Regions from separate parts of the Homo sapiens genome. Here regions 1, 2, 3 and 5 are each linked to region 4. The links are contacts of gene promoters, found by promoter capture Hi-C in blood cells and fetal thymus (Javierre and others, 2016). All regions are on one chromosome and are shown on one strand. The core of a region is centred on a gene start or on the middle of the fragment in contact, and the rest is flanking DNA. Distances in the headings are between cores, read along the strand shown.

Region 1 (2,700 bases), core at 183-2,682, 410 kb after region 4:
TAAACACCGTACAAGCGGCTCTGCGGGTCGGGGAAGCCAAAGCTTCGGACCCCAGGCTCTGGGGGCCCACAGTTAGGATGCGGGTGAACCACAGGGTAGCGGACGCTACCATCTGCCAGCCAGCCAGCGTCGCAGCGGTCCAGGCCATGGAACTTCCAGGCGGCAAAGAGCTGTCCCACCTTGGCGATCGTGGCATCATCTTCCTGGCAGGCCTCCCTTGCCTCTGTCAGCGTCAGCTTCTCAGGGTGCTCCAGGTAGTACACCCGCCCTGGGGGAAAGGGGGCGTGAGTGCCGTACAGCGCAGGGGGCAGCCAGAGAGCACAGCGGGGTCTGCAGAGATGCCAGCCCCAAAGACCCGTCTGAGCCCAGGGAGCTACCATACTGCAGGCATCTGCAGAGAACACTTTCTAATCTTCACCCTGTCCCAGAGAGCTCTGTCCCACCTGCCATAGAACCCAGGTCCCTCCAGACATGTCTGCACTCCCCCACCACCCTTCCCTATTTAGGTGGGTGGGCACCCCACCTAGGCTGGACCAGTCAGAGTCTCTTGCCCATTCGGTCATTTACTGAACACCTACTATGTGTCAGACACTTTTCCAAGGGCTTGGCATATGACACTGAACCAGTTTCTGTTTTTACTTGTTCATCTTCCTACGAAATGAGCTGCTTTGTGAAGACAGGCTGTGTTTTATTCGTCTGTGATTCCCGAGAGCCTAGTCTAGGCCCCAGCATATGGTAGGCACTCAGTAAACATTTGATGAATGAAGAAACCAATGATTTATGCCCTGCATAACGCAGCAGCAGCAAAGCACTCAAAACTCAACCAGATGCTGCTTCTAGGGTGGCTGGTGCTCTTGGCCTCCAGGTGGCAGTACCAGCAGAGCCAGCAGAGGGGGCCAGAGCTCCCCAGAAGCTGCCCTCTCACAGGTCCCAGGTGGCCACCAAACCCACAGGCCCGCGCTTGGCTATTCCACTCACCCTTGAGGGCAGTAGCGAAGCAGAATACATCATAGCGGTGCAGGCGGCGGTGGCGGGGGCCGTAGCTTCGCACGCCAGGTGCCAGGCCCGGGCCACCGCAGGGCTGCCGGGGCAACATGATGGGGTACTGCACCGTGGCATCCTGCAGCCAGCCCGCGTTGCACCAGTCCAGGCCCTCCTCCCAGGCCCGGAAGAGCTGCTCAAAGGAGGCCACCACCGCAGCCTGCTCTGCACAGACCTGCTGGCCCTCGTGGAAGTTGAACTGGTAGCGCCCGTTGGGGGACTGGTAAGGAAAGACCACACCTGCAGGGGAAGGAAAGAGGAGCTTAGGGGGTGGCCAGGGGCCCAGCTGGCTGGACACCCCGCTCTCCTCCCACCTTCACTGGGACATGTGCTGCCTGCAACACACACACATACACCATCCCTCAGAAAAACTCAGCAAACCTCTGACCTCCTGTCCGTTGCCGCCTCTCTCCTGGGACTCAGCTGGTTCACAGCAGTACTCAGAAAACATCCATGAGTTAAGGTAATTAATTAGTCCATTAATGTCCCCAACAATGTCCCCAACCTAATCCGCAAGGCTGTCGCCAGACCCCCAGTGAGGCTGTGCCATCTTCTCCAGACAGGCCCGGGCTTTGGGCTCTAGGGGCCAGGTTTGACTCCCAGCTCCCCACTCGTTAGCTGGGACCCGATCGTCTACGTTATTATGAATGTGGAAATTTCCTAGGAAAATGCAAGGAACTTTCCACGTGTGGCAGATGATTTTCAGGAGAAGGAGAGGCCCTAGAGGCCGTGGGGAGAGGGTTGGGGAAGGGCCTTCCATAAAGGAGGCTCAAGGGCAGGGAGGTCTGGGGCAGGCGGTTTCTCTCCTTGTGGTCAGGGTCTGATAGAGGCCACAGGCCCTGAAAAGATATGTTCGTGTTTGAAATTTTACTCTAATAAAAAGTTTTTAAACTTCTGAGATGTAGTCTCTACCAAGTCAATGAAACCTTAGGGAGTGGAGGTGACCCTAGGGGTCTGGGAAGGACACTTTGGAATCTCCTCCGTGTGGCCAAGGACCCAGGAACAGCCTGAGCCCCAAACCTCCGATCTCACCAGGGCCGGAAGCCAGGCACCTGGGCAAAGCCAGGTTGGGCGGCAGAGAAGCCCATGGGCCCTGACAGTCAGCTTGCAGCCTCTACGTGTGTTTGCAGGGGGACTATTTCATGCCTGGTTCCACCCCAAATTCCTAGCCCTTGAAGCCCCGGGAATGGGGTGAGGGCTCCCTGTTTCTCTAGGCTGCCCCTGCAGACCCCAGACCAATGACTCTTGCAGGTTCTCCCCAACTCCACTGCCACCCCAACTTCAAGAATGAGGAATGCGGCCCCTCTGAGCCACCATGTAAGCCATGTGGACACTGGTGGCAAAGACAGAGAACGCATTTTAAGGACATACATCTTATCCTCATTGCCTCTGAGGGAGGTAAAGGAGGAAAGATTGTGATACCCCATTTTACACCTGAGAGGCCCAGGGCTCTAAGGGGGATGAGGCATTTACCCACATGTCATAGCTGGGACGGGCTGGGGCTAAAGTCAGGTCACCTTCCTCTATCCCCGAACTGCCTCCCTAACATGTGGGAGAGATGTGAGGACACACAGCCCCATCCTAGAGACAGAGAAGGTAAATACAAATTAAAGATCAAACAGGGACCCCACATACAAGATCCGGCTTGCAGGGTGTGGC
Region 2 (2,700 bases), core at 141-2,640, 450 kb after region 4:
CACAGACAGAGGCTTGGGTTGGGAATGGACTCTTCCCTCCCAACTGCACCGGCCCTCTCCCTACACTGCTCCAGGGCAAAACGGTCCAGTGGGAAAAAGGGAAAGGGAAAGGTGTACTCTACCCAGCCACGTTACCTGTGTGTAAGATAGGTATGGTGTTTCCTCCTTCTGGAAAAGGCCACATCACCCTGTATAAAAACATCTTTGGGACTTCAGAGTCCTGCTCTTTCGGGGACTTTCCAGTAACATTTGGCCAGAGTTCAGGTTGGGGGGTACAGGGAAGAGTAGAAAGGGGCTAAGAAGATCCAGCTGTCTTTCATGGTGGCCGGGGAGGGCCAGGAGCTCCCAAGTTCCTGGGAGCTTGGAGCACTCTGGAAGCTCTAGCCCCGAGGGTCAGGCAGATCACAGGACATAGGGCTGGGGCTCAGCTGTTACCTACCTTGCTTCAGTCAATCCCATTTCTATGAGAAAATGATGGAGGGGCCACCTAAAGAGTCCTGGCCCTGACTCCCTCCCAGCGCTCCACGGTGAATGGCACGGGGCATCCGCAAGTCCAGCCTGCAAGGGGCCCAGCTGGCCTCCGGAGGCCTCCTGGGAGGCGGAGGAGGACCGGGGAAGATACAGCAGCCGGCCAAGGCCGCGGGAGGGAGGGAGTCAGGAGACTCCCATCAGCAGGCAGCCCTCTTCCAAGCTCCTCGAAGCCTCTGGGTCCCCTCCCGGGCCCCACTTACGGCCTGCGTCCATTGCACCGACTCCCCGGCCCTTCCCTTATGTGACCAGGCACGGACAATTGGGAGCGCAAAAATCCAATGAACTGTCCAGCCAACTGGAGTTGGCAGGGAGATGGCCAGGACAAAGTTATCCAGACAAGACTTATCCATACTAGAGTCCTAGAATCTCCCAGGTGGAAGGGGTTCGAAAGTCAAACGCAGTTCCCTGGCCTCATTTTTCACCAGGGAAAAGAGAGGCCCGACACAGCGGATTCCTTTGTCATTATCTGTAAGCCGCATCCCTGGGGGCGGCAGGGCTGTCACCCGATGTCCCGAGTCCCAGCCCAAAAGCCCCAGCGCAGAGACAGCAGGGCCGCATCCCCCTGTCCCGCCAGGGCGCAGCGGAAGAAGCCGCCCCTCTGCCCAGCCCGGTCCCCGGGGCTTTGTCTAAGTTTGTCAACAGTGGAGGTGGAGGGCGGGCGCCGGGCAAACTTCCGAGCGGCGCGGGGAGGAGGGGCGAGGGGCAGAGGGCGGCGCGATCCACTCACCCAGGGCGACGAGGAGGCTGGGGGCGCAGAGCAGCGCGCCGCACAGCGCGGCCAGCAGGCGGGGGCGCGGCATGCTGCGGGGACGCGGGCGCTGGAATGGGCACGCTGGGCTGCTCAGACCCCGCGGGGTTCTGGCGCCTTCTCCTCTGGGACCGGAATAAATCAGGCGGCTCAGCACCTCCCACTGGCCGTGCGCTCCGCCCAAGCTGGCCAGAGGCGGACTGGGGGCGGGGCTCCGCGGCTGGGAGGGAATTGGTTGAAAGGAATTGGGGGGCGCGGGGGTGGTCCGCGATATCTGCCTCTTCCGCCACTGCCACACCGGCGTCCCGCGTCGTGCCAACGGCCGGGTCACGAGTCTTGAGTCTGTTGGGCGGGAAAAGTTCAGGAGTTTTGTTTTTAAGATTTTTAGACTTGAAAAGATGCTAACTCTTTATTCATAATCAGATAGATGCAAATTAAAACTACAATGAGCATCGTGTTTCCCTTCTCGGATCGGCAAGTATCAAGATGTTAACAAGGTTAGTGGAGGCTGTGGGGAACAGGTCCAAGCATGCTTCGCTGAAGACAGTATAAATTAGTTCAACTTCCCTAGAGGGCTATTTGGTAACACCTATCAAAACGACAAATGCTGACACCTTAAGACCTAGCATTTCCACATAGAGAGATTCATTCTACAGAAACTCCCATGTGCAAAATGACAGATATACAAAGATAGCATAGCAACATTGTCTGAAATGGTAAAATACTAAAAAAAAAAAATCAGCGAAGGTTTCTGTAAAGGGCCTAATAGAAAATGTTCTCTGATATGTAGGCCCTGAGTCTCTGTAGCAGCTATTCATCTCTGCCTTTGTTGCAAGAAAGGCACCATAGACAAAATGCGAGGAAATGGGCACCTGTTTGCCGAAAGGGAATAAAACAAAGCAAGCCTGTCACCGTTGACTTTTTACTAAATGATTTGTACTTATCATGTGCAAATATTACCTGTTTACAAATAAGTGATTTTAATAATAGTGTTTTGGCTGGGTGCGGTGGCTCACACCTGTAATCCCAGCACTTTGGGAGGCCGAGGCACGTGGAACACCTGAGGTCGGAGTTCAAGACCAGCCTGGCCAAGATGGTGAAACCCCGTCTCTACTAAAAATACAAAAATTAGCCGGGCGCAGTGGCAGGTGCCTGTAATCCCAGCTACTCGGGAGGCTGAGGCAGGAGAATCGCTTGAACCCAGGCGGCAGAGGTCCCAGTGAGCCGAGATCATGCCACTGCACTCCAGCCTGGGTGACACAGTGAGACTCTGTCTCTAATAATAATAATAATAATAATAATAATAATAATAATAATAATGCTTCAGGCTGGGAGTGGTGACTCAAGCCTGTAATGCCAGCTCTTGGGGAGGCCGAGGTAGGCATATCACTTAAGCTCAAGAGTTCGAGACCTTCCTGGGC
Region 3 (2,700 bases), core at 151-2,650, 390 kb after region 4:
TGGGCTTCCTTCTGGAGAGGTTGTAGAGACTTCTGCCTCTGGAATAGAGGATGTCAGTGAACTTCCTTCAGGAGAAGGTCTAGAGACCTCTGCTTCTGGAGTAGAGGACCTCAGCAGGCTCCCTTCTGGAGAAGAAGTTCTAGAGATTTCTGCCTCTGGATTTGGGGACCTCAGTGGACTTCCTTCTGGAGGAGAAGGTCTAGAGACCTCTGCTTCTGAAGTAGGGACTGACCTCAGTGGGCTTCCTTCTGGAAGGGAGGGTCTAGAGACTTCAGCTTCTGGAGCTGAGGACCTCAGTGGGTTGCCTTCTGGAAAAGAAGACTTGGTGGGGTCAGCTTCTGGAGACTTGGACTTGGGCAAACTGCCTTCTGGAACTCTAGGAAGTGGGCAAGCTCCAGAAACAAGTGGTCTTCCCTCTGGATTTAGTGGTGAGTATTCTGGGGTGGACCTTGGAAGTGGCCCACCCTCTGGCCTGCCTGACTTTAGTGGACTTCCATCTGGATTCCCAACTGTTTCCCTAGTGGATTCTACATTGGTGGAAGTGGTCACAGCCTCCACTGCAAGTGAACTGGAAGGGAGGGGAACCATTGGCATCAGTGGTGCAGGAGAAATATCTGGACTGCCCTCCAGTGAGCTGGACATTAGTGGGAGAGCTAGTGGACTCCCTTCAGGAACTGAACTCAGTGGCCAAGCATCTGGGTCTCCTGATGTCAGTGGGGAAATACCTGGACTCTTTGGTGTCAGTGGACAGCCATCAGGGTTTCCTGACACTAGTGGGGAAACATCTGGAGTGACTGAGCTTAGCGGGCTGTCCTCTGGACAACCAGGTATTAGTGGAGAAGCATCTGGAGTTCTTTATGGCACTAGTCAACCCTTTGGCATAACTGATCTGAGTGGAGAAACATCTGGGGTCCCTGATCTCAGTGGGCAGCCTTCAGGGTTACCAGGGTTCAGTGGGGCAACATCAGGAGTCCCTGACCTGGTTTCTGGTACCACGAGTGGCAGCGGTGAATCTTCTGGGATTACATTTGTGGACACCAGTTTGGTTGAAGTGGCCCCTACTACATTTAAAGAAGAAGAAGGCTTAGGGTCTGTGGAACTCAGTGGCCTCCCTTCCGGAGAGGCAGATCTGTCAGGCAAATCTGGGATGGTGGATGTCAGTGGACAGTTTTCTGGAACAGTCGATTCCAGTGGGTTTACATCCCAGACTCCGGAATTCAGTGGCCTACCAAGTGGCATAGCTGAGGTCAGTGGAGAATCCTCCAGAGCTGAGATTGGGAGCAGCCTGCCCTCGGGAGCATATTATGGCAGTGGAACTCCATCTAGTTTCCCCACTGTCTCTCTTGTAGACAGAACTTTGGTGGAATCTGTAACCCAGGCTCCAACAGCCCAAGAGGCAGGAGAAGGGCCTTCTGGCATTTTAGAACTCAGTGGTGCTCATTCTGGAGCACCAGACATGTCTGGGGAGCATTCTGGATTTCTGGACCTAAGTGGGCTGCAGTCCGGGCTGATAGAGCCCAGCGGAGAGCCACCAGGTACTCCATATTTTAGTGGGGATTTTGCCAGCACCACCAATGTAAGTGGAGAATCCTCTGTAGCCATGGGCACCAGTGGAGAGGCCTCAGGACTTCCAGAAGTTACTTTAATCACTTCTGAGTTCGTGGAGGGTGTTACTGAACCAACTATTTCTCAGGAACTAGGCCAAAGGCCCCCTGTGACACACACACCCCAGCTTTTTGAGTCCAGTGGAAAAGTCTCCACAGCTGGGGACATTAGTGGAGCTACCCCAGTGCTCCCTGGGTCTGGAGTAGAAGTATCATCAGTCCCAGAATCTAGCAGTGAGACGTCCGCCTATCCTGAAGCTGGGTTCGGGGCATCTGCCGCCCCTGAGGCCAGCAGAGAAGATTCTGGGTCCCCTGATCTGAGTGAAACCACCTCTGCATTCCACGAAGCTAACCTTGAGAGATCCTCTGGCCTAGGAGTGAGCGGCAGCACTTTGACATTTCAAGAAGGCGAGGCGTCCGCTGCCCCAGAAGTGAGTGGAGAATCCACCACCACCAGTGATGTGGGGACAGAGGCACCAGGCTTGCCTTCAGCCACTCCCACGGCTTCTGGAGACAGGACTGAAATCAGCGGAGACCTGTCTGGTCACACCTCGCAGCTGGGCGTTGTCATCAGCACCAGCATCCCAGAGTCTGAGTGGACCCAGCAGACCCAGCGCCCTGCAGAGACGCATCTAGAAATTGAGTCCTCAAGCCTCCTGTACTCAGGAGAAGAGACTCACACAGTCGAAACAGCCACCTCCCCAACAGATGCTTCCATCCCAGCTTCTCCGGAATGGAAACGTGAATCAGAATCAACTGCTGCAGGTATTGTGATTTTTTCCCCCTTTAAATGTGCTTAGGTAGTTCAGACTGTAGCCTACTGCAGCACAGAAGGAGGCAGCATAGCTTTAAGGTTCCAAGAACAACTCCACCAAAGGTTAGCTGTGCAGCCTCAGGCAATAGTCTTCCCCTCTCTGAGCCTCATCTGTAACGTAAGAGTAGGATAATACTCTACCAGGGAAGATTAGGCAGAACATAAACATAGATAGATAAAGCAAGCACTTAGCATCACGCTCTGCATGCAGTGCACACTTGTAAAGATGAGTGATGTTATCGTTACAGCGGAGTTACAGTCCGTGAGTTTTTACACGTGAAT
Region 4 (2,700 bases), core at 153-2,652:
AAATGTTACAATGTCACTGGGGGTCAAGAGTGCTACAAAAACAGAGAGCTGGGTTGGGCAATGCCTGCTGACTCACCACAATCCAGTCATGTCAGTCTTTGATCAGAATCTCACTCACCAAGGACTTTCCTGTTCAGGGACTTTCAAGAGGTTGTTCCTTCTTCCTAGAATGTTTTTCCTCACATTCTTTCTTCTGGGAGAGTCCTACTCATCTTTCTGATTTCAATTTAAATATGACTGTCTCAGAGAGACATTTCTCATAAAGAGAAAAACCTGTATTCAGAAAGTCTGAGGCATTCCTTGACACTCACCATAAAATCAAAATGTGATGTATTTGTTAAACACTCTTATAGTGCCTTGTGTTTTCCTTAACAACACTTATCAGGGTCTGCATTTAGTTGTATGATTATTTGGTTACTGACTGATCCCCTCACTCAACTAGACTGAAGTACTCTGAGAACCAGAGCTACTTCTGCCTTATTCATTACAGCATCTCTATCACTTAACATACTCTCTGATGCATAGTATGGGCACAATGAACATCTGTAGGTTGAGTAACAAATATTTGTCAAGCGAGCGAGTAAATGAATAAATCAAGCAAAAAGCACAGAAGAGAAGTTTATAGTTCTCAACAGACCAAGACAAAAACATCTCGGATTCTGAGGAAACATATCACCCTTCAAACACTTTCTGTAGCGACCTCACACCTTCACAGCCACTACACTGTTTTTGCCCATGCTTCCTCACTTGCCCCTCACACAGATAGCCCCATGAGATAAAACAGAGTAGGCTTATCATAGGCATCTGACAGATGTGCCCACCGCCTCTTGTATTTCCTTCTTAACATTCATCACATCACAAAGACTTTCTCCCTCCAGACTTGTAAGCTCCTAGTGACACGGACCGATTCTTGTTCACCACAGGATCCCTATTGTGTTGCATGAACAAGAAGTAGAGTATCTCCAAAGAGTTGTCTAAGGTGACAATAAACACGGCCAATGAAAAGAAACCACTTTTTGTTGAACATCTATGTACCAAACCAAGTCAGTAAGGTAGGTACCATTCTGCGGATAAGTACCGTATACTTAAGTTCAGAGAGGTGAAATTACTCGCTCAAAGTCACGCAGAATAAACGTCACTCTGAACCCTGCATCTCAGTCCCACCTGCTGCAGTAGAGACGCCATCTCTTCCTGCAATGGGGTCAACGGCTTGGAGACTACAGGTGGCCGCTGCAGGCACAACGCGCCCAACAAGCGCCATGGGGATCCGTTGCTTGAGGGTGCGGCTGCAAGAGCCAGGCTGCGAGAGCTTAGACTGCCGGCCCAGAGCCTCTCGAACCGCCGCCAACCCCCCGCCACCCCTAACAGCGTCCGCCTTACGGGCGCCGCCATCTTTCGTTCTCCCACAATGCACCGCGGCTCCCAGGGATCCCTCAGCCGCGGGAGCGGCAAACTAGGGGAAAGCTCAGTCCCGGAACTGCTAGAACGAACCATTCGCATATGGAGGGGGTGACCCACCATCTCAGAACATTAAAAAAGGGAAAGAATCCCCTGGTGAACTACAGTGAAAGTCTTATTGAGCATTTAAATGGAAATAAAAATATTCAGTGGACCTAATGAAGAGTAGATGACTTTCCCTTCTGTCCCCTCCCCGACAGGCACTCATGGTACCGGCGCCGGCGCAGCTGTGACTGTCGCTGCAGACGGAAACTGACTGGGGTCAATTCAAGTCATGCAGGCTGTGAGAAACGCGGGGTCGCGGTTCCTGCGGTCCTGGACTTGGCCCCAGACAGCCGGGTAACAAATGACTGCCCCCTCGAGCCCACCGCCACCTCCAGGACTATGCTCCTACTCGTGTCCCTTGAGCCACCCGGGCCCCAGTGACCGTTAGGCCGTGGCCCTCACCGAGCTTTTCTTCCCAGCAGGGTCGTGGCCAGAACGCCGGCCGGGACCATCTGCACAGGCGCTCGACAGCTCCAAGACGCTGCGGCCAAGCAGAAAGTTGAACAGAACGCGGCTCCCAGCCACACCAAGTTCAGGTGAGCCCCACTTGGACCAGCCCTCTGGAGACCCGCAACCCCTGACTCTTGCCCGACACCCTCCAGAGTCAGAACCAGTGAATTTTCAGCTATGTCACTTGCTATCCGTGGGACCTTATGCAAATAAATCTGAGCCTCAGCCTTCTCATCTAAAAATGCGGATAATGCTGAGAGAGGTTGTGAGAATCAGATGAGCCGTGGTACAGAGTAAATGTTCAGTGAACATTCGTTAAATCAATGAGTGAATGTGAGATATCCATAACATGTATCAGCGTTCTTTTCTTCTGAGATGGAGATCTTTTCAGACCAATAACCTTCCCTGCCTCCAAAACAAAATGGGGAGGTAGAGGGCGCTAGCGATGGAACAGATGTTCCTGCACGTCTTACGGATGGTCCAGGGTGGGTTTTGTGCTCAGCCCTAGGAACTGGCATCTTGCTTCCCACCAGTGCCACCACCTCTGTATGCTGTATACACATCCACTTAACTTCACATCCATTTAACAAACATTTACCAAGAATCTACTATGAGTGAGACACCATGCTAGGTGCCGTGAATACAGATACAAAAGATCATTCCTCCCCACAAGTAGTTCACAGTCTTTGAGGGAAGACAAACATGCAAACATTTTAACCATAATCTGCTCAATAATATAATGGAGGT
Region 5 (2,700 bases), core at 81-2,580, 340 kb after region 4:
CAACGTCACAAGACACTGAAAAGGAGGCCTGGAGGTGTCATTAGAGTTAGCCTTCAGTCCCTAAAATTAGCTGCATCTAAGGAGCTTTTCAAAAATACGGGTGGCTGAAGCCCTAATGTGCTCCAAGAGATTCTGCTTCAGTGAGATGGGGGCTTGGAGGCGGGGAATCTGTGGTTTTCAAAATTGCCCCAGGTGATTCCATTGTGGTCTAGTTTGTCAACTCCTAGTTTAAAGCCCAAAACAGTTCCTCAGAGTGTATTTGGTTCTAAGATCTTCTCTCTAGCCCTGCCTCTTGGGCCACTTGCTCTCTTCCTTCCCCAAGGGCAGGACTACAGCCACTGCCCCCAGTTTGTCCTTTAGGGGAGTGAGAAGGTCATGGCCAGCTTCTCCTGTCTTCACTTCCCTGCCTGAGACAGGGGCCCTTCCTCCCTTGGTTCTCCAAGGTGGTTTGTATAGAACACGCCTTCCAAGGCCAGCAACAGGCTTTGTAGGTGAAAAGGATCTCATCCCTCAGAGAAAGTCAAGGATGAACAAAATTAACCCTAGTTAATTTTGGGTCTCTTCCCTGCAGGGCTTCTCAAAATGCTGATGGACCTTGGAAATCACCAAGTTTTTCAAACTGAATTTGACCGTGAAGCTTTTTTTTCCTAAAGCAGATGGAGGGACTTGAGCCTAAAAAGATGCTAATCTAGGCACGGGCCCAGGTTGAGCCTGCAGCAGGAATACAGCAGCTGCACCCAGGCCAAGGGGCAAGGGGAGACCCCACCAGGTAGGGCTTAAAATCCTAAATCTCAAATGAACTCACTGACCCAGCAAGCGCTCTCCAAGCCCCACATCTCACATCTGTAACCTTCCCTCTAAAGGCTGGCCATGCTGGGTACTCATTTTCTTCCTTTTTCTGTGGATTAGAAGACAACAATGAGGTAGAACATTCAGTGGAGTTCACTGTGGGGTGGGGTGGGGCTCTGACCCCAGGGGATTCCTGCCTCTCCACTTGTTCCCTATCCATACCTGGCCACCTGCCTCCCCTATGTGAGCTGAGGGCCTAACCCTCTGTTGTTCCCTGGCCTGTTGGGTGACTCCAGTGGGTGCCAGTCCCCTGGAAGACTTGGACTAGCACCAATGGGGGTGAACAGCAGCCCCCTGGAGCTGAGTAAAGAGGTGCCCTGCTTGCATGCTTGTCTCTGTCGCCTGACTTCACTGCCCCATCCATGGGCATCACCCCCACCCCAGACTCACGTGACCCAGCCAGGTGCTTTGTTCTCCCCCATCCCCCTAAAGCAGCCTTGTTCTGAGATTCCCACTTGTTTCCTAAACGCAACCCAAGTGGGTCTCTGTTGTGACTTGTCAATATTTTGACAGAGGGTCTCCTGGTGTGGGAGACCTGATTGCTTAGATTGCCTCCACACCCACTCCTGAGCGGGAGGAGGGTTAGGAGTGGGGATGGCTTCATTAGCGAAGGAGGAGCCTAGCCCTCGGGTTAGCGCCTCGGCCTCCTGCAGCCCCATCTAGGCCCTCCCCATCTGCCCTCTTCTCTGGATCTGCCTTCTCAGTGACCCAGGGACTCCCGGGTTTGCACACAGCAGGGTCAGCAAGACTTATGTACACCAGATAAGGCTGATGCTTCAGCGGTTGGAAAACAGGACTCCCACCCCCTCCTAAGTCACTGCAAGTACTGCACAGAATGACTCGCCCTTGGATGCACACAGCAATTGATCAAGGTTATTTGCATATTTCCTCTCAGCCCCCTGGGGATTGCAGAGGCATTTAGAAGACCTTAGAGATGGTCCTGTCTCACTTAAAATCAAGCCCAATCCCTAGCCTTGGCCTACAGGCCCCCAAGCTGGCTGGTATCCCCTCCTCCTCACATCATTCTCCCCTCCTCCACCTCCCTGCAGCCCCTGGCCTCTCACTTCCTTCAGGACTTTTGCCCTCTCGGTCCCCCTGCCCAGGTGCTCTTCCCACAGGGCTTTGCATGGCTGGTTCATTCTGGTCATGCAAGTTCAAATGTCACCTCCTCTTGGGAAGCTTTTCTTTTTGTGCCCATCTGATTTAAAGAAAACAAACACCCCCACTCCCATCCCCTGCATTTTTCTTTAACTTATCATTATCTAGAAATTCTGGCTGGTCAGTTTCCTTGGTGATTCTCTGCCCTCCTGAGCTCCACAAAGAGCACTCCTTCTCACTGCACCAAGGGGAGTGAGGAGGTCATGGCCAGTTTCTCCTGTCTCCACTTCCCTTCCTGAGACAGGGACCTTTTCTCCCTTGGTTCTCCAAGATGGTTTCTATAGAACATGCCTTCCAAGGCCAGCAACAGGCTTTGTAGGTGAAAAGGATCTCATCCCTCAGAGAAAGTCAAGGTTGAACAAAATTAACCCTAGTTAATTTTGGGTCCCTTCTTAATATGCTGATGGACCTTGGAAATCTCCATGCAGCAAAAGCTGCATGGGACATGAGCCCCATCTGTCTTGGTCACTCTGTGTCTCCAGCACCTAGGAAATGCTTGGCACACAGTAGGTGGTCAAGAAAAGTTTGTTGGCTGGACAAATAACTTCAGAGCTTTTCAAACCATGCTTCAGAGTCCGCGGGGGTCAGTCCATGATACCCCATGGGGGCTAGAGAGGTGGGTCAAGAAGTGTACAGCCACATTCTATTAGAACATCTCCAGTTTTCTGTCTTTTGAAAGCCACTGATATGTTG

The links. Contacts are between HindIII fragments. The CHiCAGO score rates a contact against its expected background, and 5 or more counts as called.
Region 1: a contact is called between a fragment that was not itself captured here and the fragment with the promoter of MRPL46 in region 4, in 8 of 17 cell types (naive CD4 T cells, total CD4 T cells, non-activated CD4 T cells and 5 more). The highest score is 9.2, in naive CD4 T cells.
Region 2: the fragment with the promoter of MFGE8 here is called in contact with the fragment with the promoter of MRPL46 in region 4 in 1 of 17 cell types (total CD4 T cells); the score reaches 5.7 in total CD4 T cells.
Region 3: a fragment that was not itself captured here is called in contact with the fragment with the promoter of MRPL46 in region 4 in 6 of 17 cell types (megakaryocytes, naive CD4 T cells, total CD4 T cells and 3 more); the score reaches 6.6 in megakaryocytes.
Region 5: a contact is called between a fragment that was not itself captured here and the fragment with the promoter of MRPL46 in region 4, in 1 of 17 cell types (endothelial precursors). The highest score is 5.4, in endothelial precursors.

The regions. Positions count from the first base shown.
Region 1 is chr15:88,877,989-88,880,688 of GRCh38, forward strand. It overlaps HAPLN3 (hyaluronan and proteoglycan link protein 3), which reads right to left. Exons shown (of 5, transcript NM_178232.4): 4 at 979-1,281; 5 at 1-268. Among named protein-coding and RNA genes, the nearest start is that of HAPLN3, 16 kb to the right of the region's middle. RefSeq lists an enhancer at 562-1,137. The HindIII fragment of the contact is 2,785 bases long and covers 41-2,700 here.
Region 2 is chr15:88,911,989-88,914,688 of GRCh38, forward strand. It overlaps MFGE8 (milk fat globule EGF and factor V/VIII domain containing), which reads right to left and starts at 1,391. Exons shown (of 8, transcript NM_005928.4): 1 at 1,259-1,391. The coding sequence starts at 1,331. RefSeq lists an enhancer at 601-1,132. The HindIII fragment of the contact is 11,396 bases long and covers 1-2,700 here.
Region 3 is chr15:88,857,049-88,859,748 of GRCh38, forward strand. It overlaps ACAN (aggrecan), which reads left to right. Exons shown (of 19, transcript NM_001369268.1): 12 at 1-2,369. Among named protein-coding and RNA genes, the nearest start is that of HAPLN3, 37 kb to the right of the region's middle. The HindIII fragment of the contact is 8,083 bases long and covers 1-2,700 here.
Region 4 is chr15:88,465,986-88,468,685 of GRCh38, forward strand. It overlaps MRPL46 (mitochondrial ribosomal protein L46), which reads right to left and starts at 1,403. Exons shown (of 4, transcript NM_022163.4): 1 at 1,165-1,403. The coding sequence starts at 1,392. It overlaps MRPS11 (mitochondrial ribosomal protein S11), which reads left to right and starts at 1,723. Exons shown (of 6, transcript NM_022839.5): 1 at 1,723-1,797; 2 at 1,923-2,039. The coding sequence starts at 1,733. RefSeq lists enhancers at 1-937, 1,404-1,573. The HindIII fragment of the contact is 6,788 bases long and covers 1-2,700 here.
Region 5 is chr15:88,810,647-88,813,346 of GRCh38, forward strand. The region is part of intron 1 of ACAN (aggrecan); the gene reads left to right. Among named protein-coding and RNA genes, the nearest start is that of ACAN, 8.6 kb to the left of the region's middle. The HindIII fragment of the contact is 1,391 bases long and covers 636-2,026 here.